3 separate regions of the Homo sapiens genome follow, and all the other regions are linked to region 2. Evidence: promoter capture Hi-C in 16 types of primary human blood cells and fetal thymus (Javierre and others, 2016). All regions are on one chromosome and are shown on one strand. Each heading gives the region's core, a stretch centred on a gene start or on the middle of the fragment in contact. The rest is flanking DNA. Distances are from core to core; before and after follow the strand shown.

Evidence for each region. The method cuts DNA at HindIII sites, captures the fragments that hold promoters and counts their contacts. A CHiCAGO score of 5 or more calls a contact.
Region 1: a contact is called between a fragment that was not itself captured here and the fragment with the promoter of TFAP2E in region 2, in 1 of 17 cell types (M2 macrophages). The highest score is 5.2, in M2 macrophages.
Region 3: a contact is called between a fragment that was not itself captured here and the fragment with the promoter of TFAP2E in region 2, in 1 of 17 cell types (monocytes). The highest score is 5.6, in monocytes.

What each region holds. Positions count from the first base shown.
Region 1 is chr1:35,158,270-35,162,507 of GRCh38, forward strand. No RefSeq gene overlaps it. Among named protein-coding and RNA genes, the nearest start is that of SFPQ, 33 kb to the right of the region's middle. The HindIII fragment of the contact is 4,233 bases long and covers 1-4,202 here.
Region 2 is chr1:35,571,193-35,575,386 of GRCh38, forward strand. It overlaps TFAP2E (transcription factor AP-2 epsilon), which reads left to right and starts at 2,122. Exons shown (of 7, transcript NM_178548.4): 1 at 2,122-2,412; 2 at 2,735-3,217; 3 at 3,757-3,808. The coding sequence starts at 2,386. TFAP2E-AS1 (TFAP2E antisense RNA 1) reads right to left here. Exons shown (of 3, transcript NR_183387.1): 2 at 3,168-3,506. RefSeq lists enhancers at 2,086-2,585, 2,827-3,573. The HindIII fragment of the contact is 6,124 bases long and covers 430-4,194 here.
Region 3 is chr1:35,179,345-35,183,180 of GRCh38, forward strand. SFPQ (splicing factor proline and glutamine rich) reads right to left here. Exons shown (of 10, transcript NM_005066.3): 10 at 3,592-3,836. Among named protein-coding and RNA genes, the nearest start is that of SFPQ, 12 kb to the right of the region's middle. The HindIII fragment of the contact is 1,769 bases long and covers 754-2,522 here.

The DNA.
Region 1 (4,238 bases), core at 836-3,335, 410 kb before region 2:
TTAGATAGAACGTGACTATTAAGTATAGTTTCTTTCTTTTATAGAGCTTTTCAGTATTGAAATTTAATATTATGTTGAATATTATAACCAGTGTTTAAATTTTGGACATTGCCAAATTTAAAATTTAAAAATAGCGCCGGGCATGATGGCTCACACCTATAATCCCTGCACTTTGGGAGACTGAGACAGGTGGATCACTTGAGGTCAGGAGTTTGAGACCAGCCTGAACAACATGGTGAAAGCCCATCTCTACTAAAAATACCAAAAATTAGCCTGGTGTGGTGGCAGGCGCCTGTAATCCCAGCTACTTGGGAGGCCAACACACGAGAATCGCTTGAACCCAGGAGGCGGAGGTTACAGTGAGCTCAGATCACGCCACTGCATTCCAGCCTGGGTGACAGGGTGAGACTCGGTCTCAAAAAAAAAAAAAAAGAAAGAAAATTATTAGAATACATTACATTGCGTAGATACAAAAACTAGGTATTTCTTTAGGAGACTGAGGCGGGTGGGTCACTTGAGGCCAAGAGTGCGAGACTAGCCTGGGCAACGTGGTGAAATGCTGTCCCTACTAAAGAAACAAAAATTAGCCGGGTGTGGTGGTGGGCTCCTGTAATCCCAGCTACTCGGGAGGCTGAGACAGGAGAATCGTTTGAACCCGGGAGGCAGAGATTGCAGCGAGCTGAGATTGCACCACTGCACTCCAGCCTGGGTGACAGAGGGAGACTCCATCTCAAAAAAAAAAAAAAAAAAACAAGGAAAAGAAAAAGAAAAGAAATAAAGAAACAAACTACTGATAGGCATGGTGGTTCACACCTATAATCCTAGAACTTTGGGAGGCTGAGGCAGGAAGATTGCTTGAGCTCAGGAGTTCCAGACCAGCCTGGGCAACATAGGAAGACCTCATCTCTGCTAAAAAAAAAAAAAAAAATTTTTTTTTTTTTTGAGACACACTCGTTGCCCAGGCTGGAGTGCAGTGATGTGATTTCAGCTCACTGCAACCTCTGCCTCCTGGGTTCAAGCAATTCGCCTGCTTCAGCCTCCCAAGTAGCTGGGACTACAGGCACGCACCACCATTCCTGGCTAATTTTTTTTTTTTTTTTGTATTTTTAGTAGAGACAGAGTTTCACTATGTTGGCCAGGATGGTCTCGAACTCCTGGCCTTGTGATTGGCCCTGCCTTGGCCTCCCACAGGCTGGGATTACAGGGGTGAACCACCACACCTGGCCTGCAAAATTTTTTTTTAAATTTGCCAGATATGGTAGTGAGCACCTGCGGTCCCAGCTACTTGGGAGGCTGAGGTGGGAGGATCACCTGAGCCTGGGAGGTCGAGGCTGCAGTGAGCTGTGATCATGCCACTGCACTCCAGCCTGGGTAATAGAGTGAGACTGTCTCAGAAAAGAACCCAACAAACTATTGATACACCTAACAATGTGTATGACTCTCAAAATAATGCTGAGTGAAAGAAGCCAAATAAAAAAAAGAGGCCGGGTGCAGCGGCTCATGCTTGTAATCCCAGCACTTTGGGAGGCCAAGGTGGGTGGATCATGAGGTCAGGAGTTCAAGATCAGCCTGGCCAAGATGGTGAAATCCCATCTCTATTAAAAATACAAAAATTAGCTGGGCGTGGTGGCTGGTGTCTGTAATCCCAGCTACTCTGGAGGCTGAGGCAGAGAATTGCTTGAACCCGGGAGGCAGAGGTTGCAGTGAGCTGAGATCGCGCCATTGCATTCCAGCCTGGGCAACAGAGGGAGACTCCATCACACACACACACACACATACACACACACAAAACACATGTCAAAGATTCTATTCATATAAAATTCTGGAAAATGGAAACTAACCTATAGTGGTAAGTAAGCAGATCAGTGGTTGCCTGTAGATTGGTAGAGGCAAAGGAGGGATGTATAGGTACAGGAGTCAAGGATTACTAAGGGACACAAGGAAACTTTTGGGGGTGGCAGCCATTTTATCTTGATTGTAATGTGAAAGTTGTTAGAATTGAGATTTAACACTAGGAGTCACTAGTGTTTAAAAAAAAAAATAGAGCCAGGGAAGGCTTGTATGTCTCATAACAGAAGCTATCACAAAAGACCCTTGAAAAAACACAACCTTGCAAAAAAGCCATCACAAACTTACACAAAAAATTCATCTGCAAAGACATCTACCAAGCAACTGCCTGTCCAACCTCAGCCAGGCAACACCCTTGTTAAGGATTTTTATAGCCAAGGATATCATTTCAAAACAATGATGTAATCCTCTTCATTTTTTCCTTTGAAAACCTTTCTCCTCTGTCTTTTTCCTTTTTCTTTTTTTTTTTTTTTTTTTTGAGACAGAGTCTTGCTCTGTCACCCAGGCTGGAGTGCAGTGGTGTGATCTCAGCTCACTGCAACCTCTGCCTCCTGGGTTTGATTCTCCCGCCTCAGTCTCCCCGGTAGCTGGGATTACAGACATGCACCACCATCCCCGGCTAATTTTTGTATTTTTAGTAGAGACAGGTTTTCGCCATGTTGACCAGGCTCGTCTCGAACTCCTGGCCTCATGTAATCCACCCACTTCAGTCTCCCAAAGTGCTGGGATTGCAGGCATGAACCACCGCATCCAGCCAAAACCTTTGTCTTTCTTTACCTATTCAATACATATACATAGTTTACTGTGGCACACATATTCCCATTGCAATGCGTAACTCCTGAATAAATCTCTTTTTCTTTTAGAGAGCCTCTTTCTCTTTATTATTTAGATTGACAGTGGTAATGATCTTATTGGTGTATACATATGTCAAACTTTATCAAGTTTGTACTTCAAATATGTGCAGTTTATTGTATATCAATTACTTCATTTAAGCTGTTTTTTAAAATGTTCATTACGTTTTCCTGTGTAAAATGGAAATTCGTGTGACTATTTATAACTTTTTCCAACTTGTTCTGTCTCTGTTAAAACAAATCTGTTGTATTCAGCTTCCAGCTCAGACAGAAAACTGGTACCAGATTTCCCTTAGTGCTGTAAACAACTAGAAAACTGCATGAAGTATACAAAACAACTGCTGTTCATACATGGTATATGTGTTTGCTAGAGCTGCCATAACAAAATACCAGACTAGTGGCTTAAAAAACAGAAATAGGGGCCAGGCGCGGTGGCTCACACCTGTAATCCCAGCACTTTGGGAGGCTGAGGCGGGTGGATCACAAGGTCAGGAGATCGAGGCCATCCTGGCTAACATGGTAAAACCCCGTCTCTACTAAAAATACAAAAAATTAGGCGGGCGTGGTGATGGGCGCCTGTAGTCCCACCTACTCAGGAGGCTGAGGCAGGAGAATGGCATGAACCTGGGAGGCGGAGCTTGCAGTGAGCCGAGATCATGCCACTGCACCCCAGCCTGGGCAACAGAGCGAGACTCCGTCTCAAAACAAAACAAAACACAACAAAAAAAAACAGAAATAGGCCGGGTGCAGTGGCTCACGCCTGTAATCCCAGCACTTTGGGAGGCCGAGGAGGAGTCAGATCACTTGAGGTCAGGAGTTCGAGACCAGCCTGGCCAACATGGTGAAACCCTGTCTCTACTAAAAATACAAAAATTAGCTGGGCATGGTGGCAGGCGCCTGTAATCCCAGCTACTCAGGAGTCTGAGGCAGGAGAATCGCTTGAACCTGGGAGGCAGAGGTTGCAGTGAGCTGAGATTGTGCCACTGCACTCCAGCCTAGGCAAAAGAGTGAGACTCCATTTCAGAAAAAAAAAAAAAAAAAAAGCCAGGAGTGTATTTTCTCACAGTTCTTGAGTGTAGAAGATCAAGATGGCAGTGTTGGCAGGTTTAATTTCTTCTGAGGTCTTTCTCCTTGGCTTGCAGAGGGCAGTCTACTTGCTGTGTCCTTTCCTGGTCCTCATGTGGTCCACTCATCCATGGTGATTCTTCCTTTTCTCATAAAGATATTAGCCGTAATGGAGTAAGGCCTCACCCGTATGCCTTCATTTTACCTTAATTATTTCTTGAAAGGCCCTATCTACAAATATAGTCACATTCTGAGATACACTAGGGGTTAAGACTTCAATTGGATTTTTGGGGGACACAATTCAGTCCATAACACATTGCAAAATAGGCTATACAGGATTGTGATTCTTGAAAAAAGGGTAGTAAATGAGGCAAGCACCTCTGCACTCCAGCCTGGGTGAAAGTGAAACTCATGATTGTCACATGCTGTCTGCCTGGAAGCTTTATCTGATCCATGGTGTAGAGAAGAGGACCC
Region 2 (4,194 bases), core at 872-3,371:
TGAGAAAGAATTACCGACATTAAGCATGTAGGTGAAAAGAGAAACAGAAAAGAAGACAGAAATGGTCGGAGTAGGACAATGAGGCAAAAAGGGGCTATCAAAGGTGTAGGAAGTAGATTGAGAAAACCCAAGGAAGCCACAGACAGGCAGCACATCCCGCCACTCTGGCCTTCCCAAGCTGCTGGAGAGAGCAGGGGCATCCCCGCAGCTGGGCACAGGCATCATCTCCTTTGCGGCTCCTAGACTTCTCCCAGAGGAGTTCATCAATTTCTATTCACGCACTGACACCTGTCCTGGAGCTTGACTTCTGATGCCCTGTGGCTGGGGTTGAGGGAGGGAGGAACAGGGCATTGCCACAGACTCCCTCATATATAGATACACACAAACACAATCCTGATCTCTGACCCATCTCGAGCAGGAAAGTTGCAAAGCTTCCCAATTCCGCTTCATCCTCTGGAACCTCGCTGGCGGTTCCAGACTTCAGAAAGTTCTTAATGATGAATCCTTGGCTTCTAGCCTCCTTCTTTCCCCACCACTCCCCAGGCTGAGATCATCCAGCCCTGAGCTCTGCACCTGCCATGTGCCTTCTGGGATACCCACTTGGAACCATATATTCCATGAGTTAATGGTGTCACTATCACCTCCTCTTCTATATCAATAATTTTACCTTAATCTTCTCATTTACTACTTCACTAAAAAGGGACCTAAAAAAACAACTAGTCTTCTCTGCCTTCCCCTACTTTTTTATTGGTGTTGTCGAAGTTGCAGAAACTGAGATCACAGAGGAAACGGGATGTAGCTAGGATCACACAGTTAGGCAGAGTCAGGACTAAATCCAAGCCCCTGAGTCTGAGGCAGTAGAGAATAGTGATTCTGAGCAGAGAGGGGCCAGGGGCAGATCACCCCAGCTCTGCCACTTAGCTGCTTGACCTTGGGCAAGCCATTTAACCTCTCCATGCCTCACCCCTCCCCTGAAAATGGGGATGATATGGGTATCTCTTTCATAGAGCTGCTGTGAGGGTTAAAGAACCCAATATTCGTGAAGCACTTTGCACAGAGGCTGGCACATTCTGTAATAAGTCTGCTGTGATTATTTCTACTTTGCCCTGGTCTGCACATCTTGCTTTTAAAAAACATCTTTCTTCTGCTTTCTTAATTCCTGTTCTCCTTAGCATTCCTCTCATTTGTCCATCTTTAATCCCTGTCTCTGCTTGTCAGGAGGGGAGGGTTGGGTTTGGGGAGAAAGAGAGAGTGACTACAGAGACTGGAACTTGCTTGACAGCCAGGGAGTGCCTGCCATGGTAACACAGGAACATGTAGCCTGCGCATGTTAGTGTAACAATCACACGGCATCCATGCTAGTCAGTTACACACAGTCACTCAACAGTCTCTGGGTATCTCATGCCCACACTCAATCAGCCCAGGACCCTGTGGCTTCAGAAATATCTTGGCCCCTTGTCAGGTGGAGCTCATACCCAAACCCATCCCAGGCAAGTCTCTCTCTCTGTCTGGCCAGCTTCTGTCTCCAACTCCCTCAGAGCCTGGCTTGGCTTGGAAGTTTTCAGCCCAGGAAGCCTGAGAGCGAAGTGGGCACCTTCGAGGGATTTTGATCCAGAACCATTCAGGAAAGACTGTGATGGTAGACCCCCTAAACACACGCACTGACACTGTGTGCGCATGAGCAGATAGGCTGGAGTCTTCAGCTCACAAACTTCTTCCACGTTCCCGATTACCCACCTCATCCAAAGTCTCTTGAGGTGCTTAGAGAAAGGATTGATACCTATTTTACCGAGGAAGCTGAGGCCAGCGAAGAATAGTGCTTTGCTTAAAGGCAAGGATGTGATAGAGCCAGGCAAATGTAGGGCCCTTGCGTCCCAGCCTCGAATATTTCTGTTTCACTGCAGCTGCGAGCTGCGAGCCCAGAAGGCGGCTCTGATCAATGTGGGCTGAATTCACGCCCCCTACCCACCCTACCCGATCCCGCCAAAGCCACTGCCTCCCCTGTGGCAGCCGCTGGGGAAAAGGGAGAGAACTGCCATAGCTTGTCTCTTTAATGCGCGCCCCCGGAGGCCCGGCGCGCCCCCGCCACTATAACTGGAGTGCATGGAGCAGGCTACGCTCAGAGGAGGAAGGGCGGGCGCTGGGCACCCGTTGACCGACTTTTCCAAGTGCGATCAGTGCCCGTCCGTCCTGCCTCCATGGACCCGCCCGGGAACGGCCACCGCTGAGGACCCCACGCCCACTAGGATCCCGGCTGGGTCGCACCCAGCTACCGCACCGTGACCTCCGCGGGCTGTGCCGGCTCCCGGCGCCTCTGCCCGCAGCGCTCGCCGTCGGGCTAGGGCTCCGCCGCCGCCACGCCTCGCGCCCGGCACTCACCGCCCCATGCTGGTGCACACCTACTCCGCCATGGTGAGTAGTCTCGGGCCCGGGACATATTCGGCCGGGGGATCGGGGCGCCTGAGTGCTGGACTTTCCAACCCTCCTGTCCCGCGCTAACGAAATCTCGGAGGGAGGGGGCCGCAGGGACTTCGCCAGCTGAGAACGCGATGCGCAAGTGACCGCTGTCCCCAGCCTGAGGCTCCTGCGCCCGCGGGTGGCTCGGAAATAAACCTCGGGCCCCAAGAAACGGGAGGGACTGCAGCTGAACCCTCCCGAGCTGAGGAGGATCCTTTCAGGCTGGGGTCCTTTCAGCTGCCAGTGGGTCACCTAAGGCACCCCTCTCCTTCCCCAGGAGCGCCCCGACGGGCTGGGAGCAGCTGCCGGCGGGGCCCGCCTGTCGTCTCTGCCCCAGGCGGCCTACGGGCCGGCGCCCCCGCTCTGCCACACGCCGGCCGCCACAGCTGCCGCCGAATTCCAGCCGCCCTACTTCCCGCCGCCCTACCCGCAGCCACCGCTGCCCTACGGTCAGGCGCCCGACGCCGCCGCAGCCTTTCCCCACCTGGCAGGGGACCCATATGGCGGCCTGGCGCCCCTGGCGCAGCCGCAGCCTCCTCAGGCCGCCTGGGCCGCGCCCCGCGCAGCCGCCCGCGCCCACGAGGAGCCTCCCGGCCTGCTGGCACCGCCCGCCCGCGCCCTGGGCCTTGACCCGCGCCGTGACTATGCCACTGCCGTGCCCCGGCTCCTGCACGGCCTGGCCGACGGCGCGCACGGCCTGGCAGACGCACCTCTCGGCCTTCCGGGGCTGGCGGCGGCCCCCGGTCTGGAGGACCTGCAGGTGAGACCCGAGGGATCCGGGATGGGTCGGGACTGGCCGCGGTGGTTTACTACCATGGCTGGAGGCAGAAGGTGACAAATGCAGGAAGCCGACTTTTCTCCCAGCTCGCCACATCTCACTGGTGACTCCGAGGATGTGTCCCACCTCCTGGGTTAGACGTTGCCTGGCCATCAAGGCTGCCTGGCACTGAGTCCGCCAGCAGTGCGTGGGTGGCAGCAACCCTCGGCAGGGACCGAATCACTTCTTTTCTCCCCGCTGCCACGTGTGGCATCCATGGGGCAGCCTGCACCTGGGGCGAAGAGAAGCATAATAGTTACCAGTGTAAGATTCAAAATTCCCTTTTTGCACTGCACAGTGAGATGCCCAGGGCTCCAGCTCAGTGCCTGGACATAGCGATTCCTGGGCCTGCCCGTCGCCGCCCCAAGCGAAGCTGGTGCGCCTTGGGCGGAGCAGACAGAGACCCTGGGTGGCAGGGGCTTGGGAAGACATGGGCGGCTAGGGCTTTATGCGCCCTCACCGCTGCCCTCTGCTATTTGCAGGCAATGGACGAGCCGGGAATGAGCCTCCTAGACCAGTCCGTGATCAAGAAAGGTAAGGAATGGTCTGTCAGGGCAGAGCCCGGCGAGATGGTGCAGGCCCTTGGTGCACAGATCCATTTTCTTCACCGGCCGTGCCTCCTGTGTGTCGCCAGGCTGGGTGTCCACCAGGCACTCTTCCTGGCCCAGCCAGATGTTAGGCAGACGTGCGGGCTTGGTGAGTTTGCCCAGCACCCTGTGGCCTGGGGTGGGCCTCAGCGGATCAGCATTCACTGGGCTGCAGCACTGGGAGCCTGGCCTCTCCCCGCCGAGGGGGAGGGCACTCTTGTGGATCTGGAGTTGATTTGCAGAACGAGTTAAACCACTTCCCTGTTTCCCTAAGAGATGGGAATGGAAGTGCTGTTCCCACGGAGTTGGGGAAATGATTTTCACTTTACAGTG
Region 3 (3,836 bases), core at 388-2,887, 390 kb before region 2:
AACCTTGCATGAAGAGCACCCATTGCATTTCTTTCATCTTTCAGAAAGCACCGGTATCTGTTCCAAGGGCCTAACAGTACGAAAATACATTCTGGCATCACACCTCTGAACCCAAGACTGTTCTCATTAAAAATAATTTTGGTTTGTAACAAAATTATGAAATACAATGCAAGCACCTCGGTATAGCATTATTACTGAAACCACTTAATTCCCAGCTTTTTGAGTTTTTTAAAAAAACCCACTGCACTAAGATTCACAATTCATTGCTACATACAAATTAAAGCTAGTAAGAACACACTAACGTCACAAGTTTCTCATTCTAAAGTGCAAAAGCCTAATCATCTGAAAGTGAACAGGGTAAGGCAAAATTAACCCCCCACCCCAATAAAGTTCCTGAAGTCCATATATTATATACCAAGTACATTCTCTAAAAATTGTTACTGACTGGTAAGAAATAGACCTGAGTTTTTATTTCTAACACCCAATCACTAAACCACGGCAGCAAGCACTGGCCACCGATTTAATGGATTACGACACAGGAAACCCCATCAGGGTTCTATGTAATTTAGTGATACTCATGTCACTAATATTGAGCATTATACTTGATCTGCATTATATTGTTGATATGCAGAGGCTAAACTAGTCATCATTTGCTCTTTCATCTATCAGTAGAGTCCAAAGTTGTTTGCTTGAATGGACTACATGTTAAAGTACAAGTCTGTCCCCACCTTGTGAATTGCTTGCCAACGAGCAAGCTTTTTCTTGATACACAGAAGAAAAGTCTCATAGTCATGAAGTTTTCATCAGCATTTATGCAAAGTAAACCACTTTCCAGTTACAGAGCAGAAACATTATACATGAAAACTGTCTCTCATGCATGCTAGCTAAAACCAGTTCAGAGACCAAGAAGTTGAAGTGAGGTCTGGAACAACAGTTGATGCAAAGTCCTAAGCAACAAAAGTTGTGCTTTTGAAGACTTAGGTTTTCTTGTAAACATTTTGGACTATAACATCACATCCCTAAAGCTAAGGGAACCAAATTCAAAAAGCTACTCTGAACATATGCAGTCATCCTACAGAAACGACGATGTCTTATGATTGGGAATGATTCCCAACATGTATTCGACTGTAGTCAAGTCAATGTTCCACACCACCTTCCCCCAGGTTTAGAGTATAGACACATTTAGACAAGTCCCATAACTTGAACTATTCACATTAGATTCCCATCTAAGCCCAAGTTAGTAACAATGGTGTTTTCATGAAGCCCATGTTTTTAAAAATTTTAAATCGCATTACAAAAAAACCTGTACTTTTAGTTCAACTCAACTTGTAGAATTACCAAGATTGCATAATGAAATTACTGATATTGCCGATCTATGGGCAGGTCAGTTTGCTACAATAGAGACTAATTATCACATGCTATACGGTCCATGTCAAGGTGCTAAAAGCACCCTAGTTCCCAAGTATAGTTTAGTTCCCTCTCCCCCACACCACTGATGTGTTCCATGTTATCTTCAGTTACAATGCAACTAAAGGAAACCACACAACTGAGTCAGATATACCAAAGAATCAAGTTTGCACTTTTTATCTGAGAACTGCAACAGCACTGAATTCTGCCTGACAAATTACAGCTCTAACCCCACACCCACACAGTTTTGATGTAAGCTAGCTTTACCATACAAGTGTTAGGTGCTGCACTGTAATTTCATTGTCAGAAATGTGATGCCAGAATGCCCACGGAATAAAAGTACATACAAGTCACCAAGTTAGATTATATTGCTTGTTACCTACCTGTATGCAGTCGGCAATGAGAATCTTGGAGCAAGCAGGAATACTACATCCGGGTCCTAATGTCCATTGCCATTTGCGGTACTACGTTCCTCACAGTTACGCACTGCAGAAATGCTGGCTAAATGCAGTTATGTAGCAGGCCACTACTTTAATAGTGCATAATTGCAGTCCAAGAACACCAGAAAACATTCCGCCACAACTTAGTGGCTTGCCCAAGAAAAGCCAAGTATCTAAATTTTAATCTGCCATAATATGCCACTTAAAAATTGCACAGGCGTAACATTACAATTTCCCCATTTTTTAGCTGTTTATATTAGTGGTACAATACATCTATAAAGAGTGGTGGGGTTTGTAGTACTTCTTATGAGTTTAATGTTCTAAGCAAAGAGGATTATGGTTTCACTAACATGAGCCAATGGGCTATGCTTATAAAATACCTATTAAATACACTGGGGTCTTAACAATATGCAGTTTTTAAAGATTAGGAGAAGTATAAAAAACAACCAGTGTTCCTCTTAAAACAAAATTATGAGAAAGTGGAGAAGAGGAAATGGGGACAAGTGGTTTCTTTAAATGAAAAAAATGGCTAAAATACTTCAAAAATTGCTACCTCCCCTTTCCCACCCCAAGTTTCAGATCGACTTTTAGGAAACTATTAAGATTATTTAAATTCACATTAGGCTAAAAACTATCATATATACATTGAAGACTTATTGAAAGTCTATTTGAGTAAGCTTACAACCCTGAGTACATTGCTGTTTTAGTGATGAAAGTCAAATGTCATTTGAAACTAAGCAACATTATTTGCTAAACAACGTTTAGCAACTCTACAGTCCACAGTAAGGGTATCAAAAGCCACAACTTTCAGGAGATTATCCATTAGCATCCTTCACCACTCTTCAAAGGTACAGTACTACCAAAAGCTTATTTTAGGGGGTCTGTGCCAGCATCCCTTATAAAGAAAGGCATGTAATCTGAAAAATAAACTGAAACATTAATTTTATAGGCAGATTTTCCCATTTCCCGACCAGCCCCCACCCACACACATTCAAAGTTCACCCTCTGTGGGTGTCCCATGGAACACCCCTTATTTTCTTGTCTTTAGTAGAGTCCCTACTATATAATTCAACCAAACTGTAATGGATTCCTTTCTAATCAAGACCCTTGTTTCCGTACAGAAAATCTCTTATGTATCACCAATTAATAACCTGTTTGGGGACAAAACTTCCTCACTGATATAATCATGGTAAAACTACTCATATTTCCGAGTGTGCTGGTGAATGATATAATGAGCATTACTTTCTAATGAGATTCTCTCCCTTAGCACACCATGTACCTGTCAGTCATACAACCAGTATTTGGTGAGATGCTTTTATACACTAGTGTTTACTTTCAGCATTATCCTGTTTCCTATGCAGAAAGTGCTCAGATTGTTCCAACAATAGGTCTCCTTTTGTACACAGGCACAATACTAAACTTCAGCATGTTAATAAAGGTTTGACTTAGAATTTTTCTTTTGCCAATTAGCACCAAGAAAAGAGGTGAAAAGGAGGAAGACACATTCCATAGTAAGAATTCTACAATGTACAGATTTGAATGGAACGTAACTCAGAACAAAGCCAAACCATTCAATTACTTTACCTACTGTTAGGAAGCTGTTCCTCTAACATATTTACACTGGGAAATCAGGCTCCCATTATACTAACAGGCAACAATAAACAATCTACTTTAATAGTCAAAGTCTCTTGTTCTAATGGAAGGGGGTTCAATGAAGTTGACAATTAACTGACAACACCATGGAAACATTCCAAGCCTTTATGGTGGGAGGAAGGGATATTTGTACTGTGTAGCATGAGCAACTTTCTCCAGATTTAGTGCTACATGAAAACGAAACTATGTGAAAACAAGTTAAATTTACAATAAGAATGATTATCTGCAACCCTATTTGTTAACAATCACCACTAGCTCTTAGAAGAGAACCAATAGATTTTTATAGTCCTATAGATTTTGCCCAACAGAAGTAGCACAAGGAGATGTAAAAGTTAC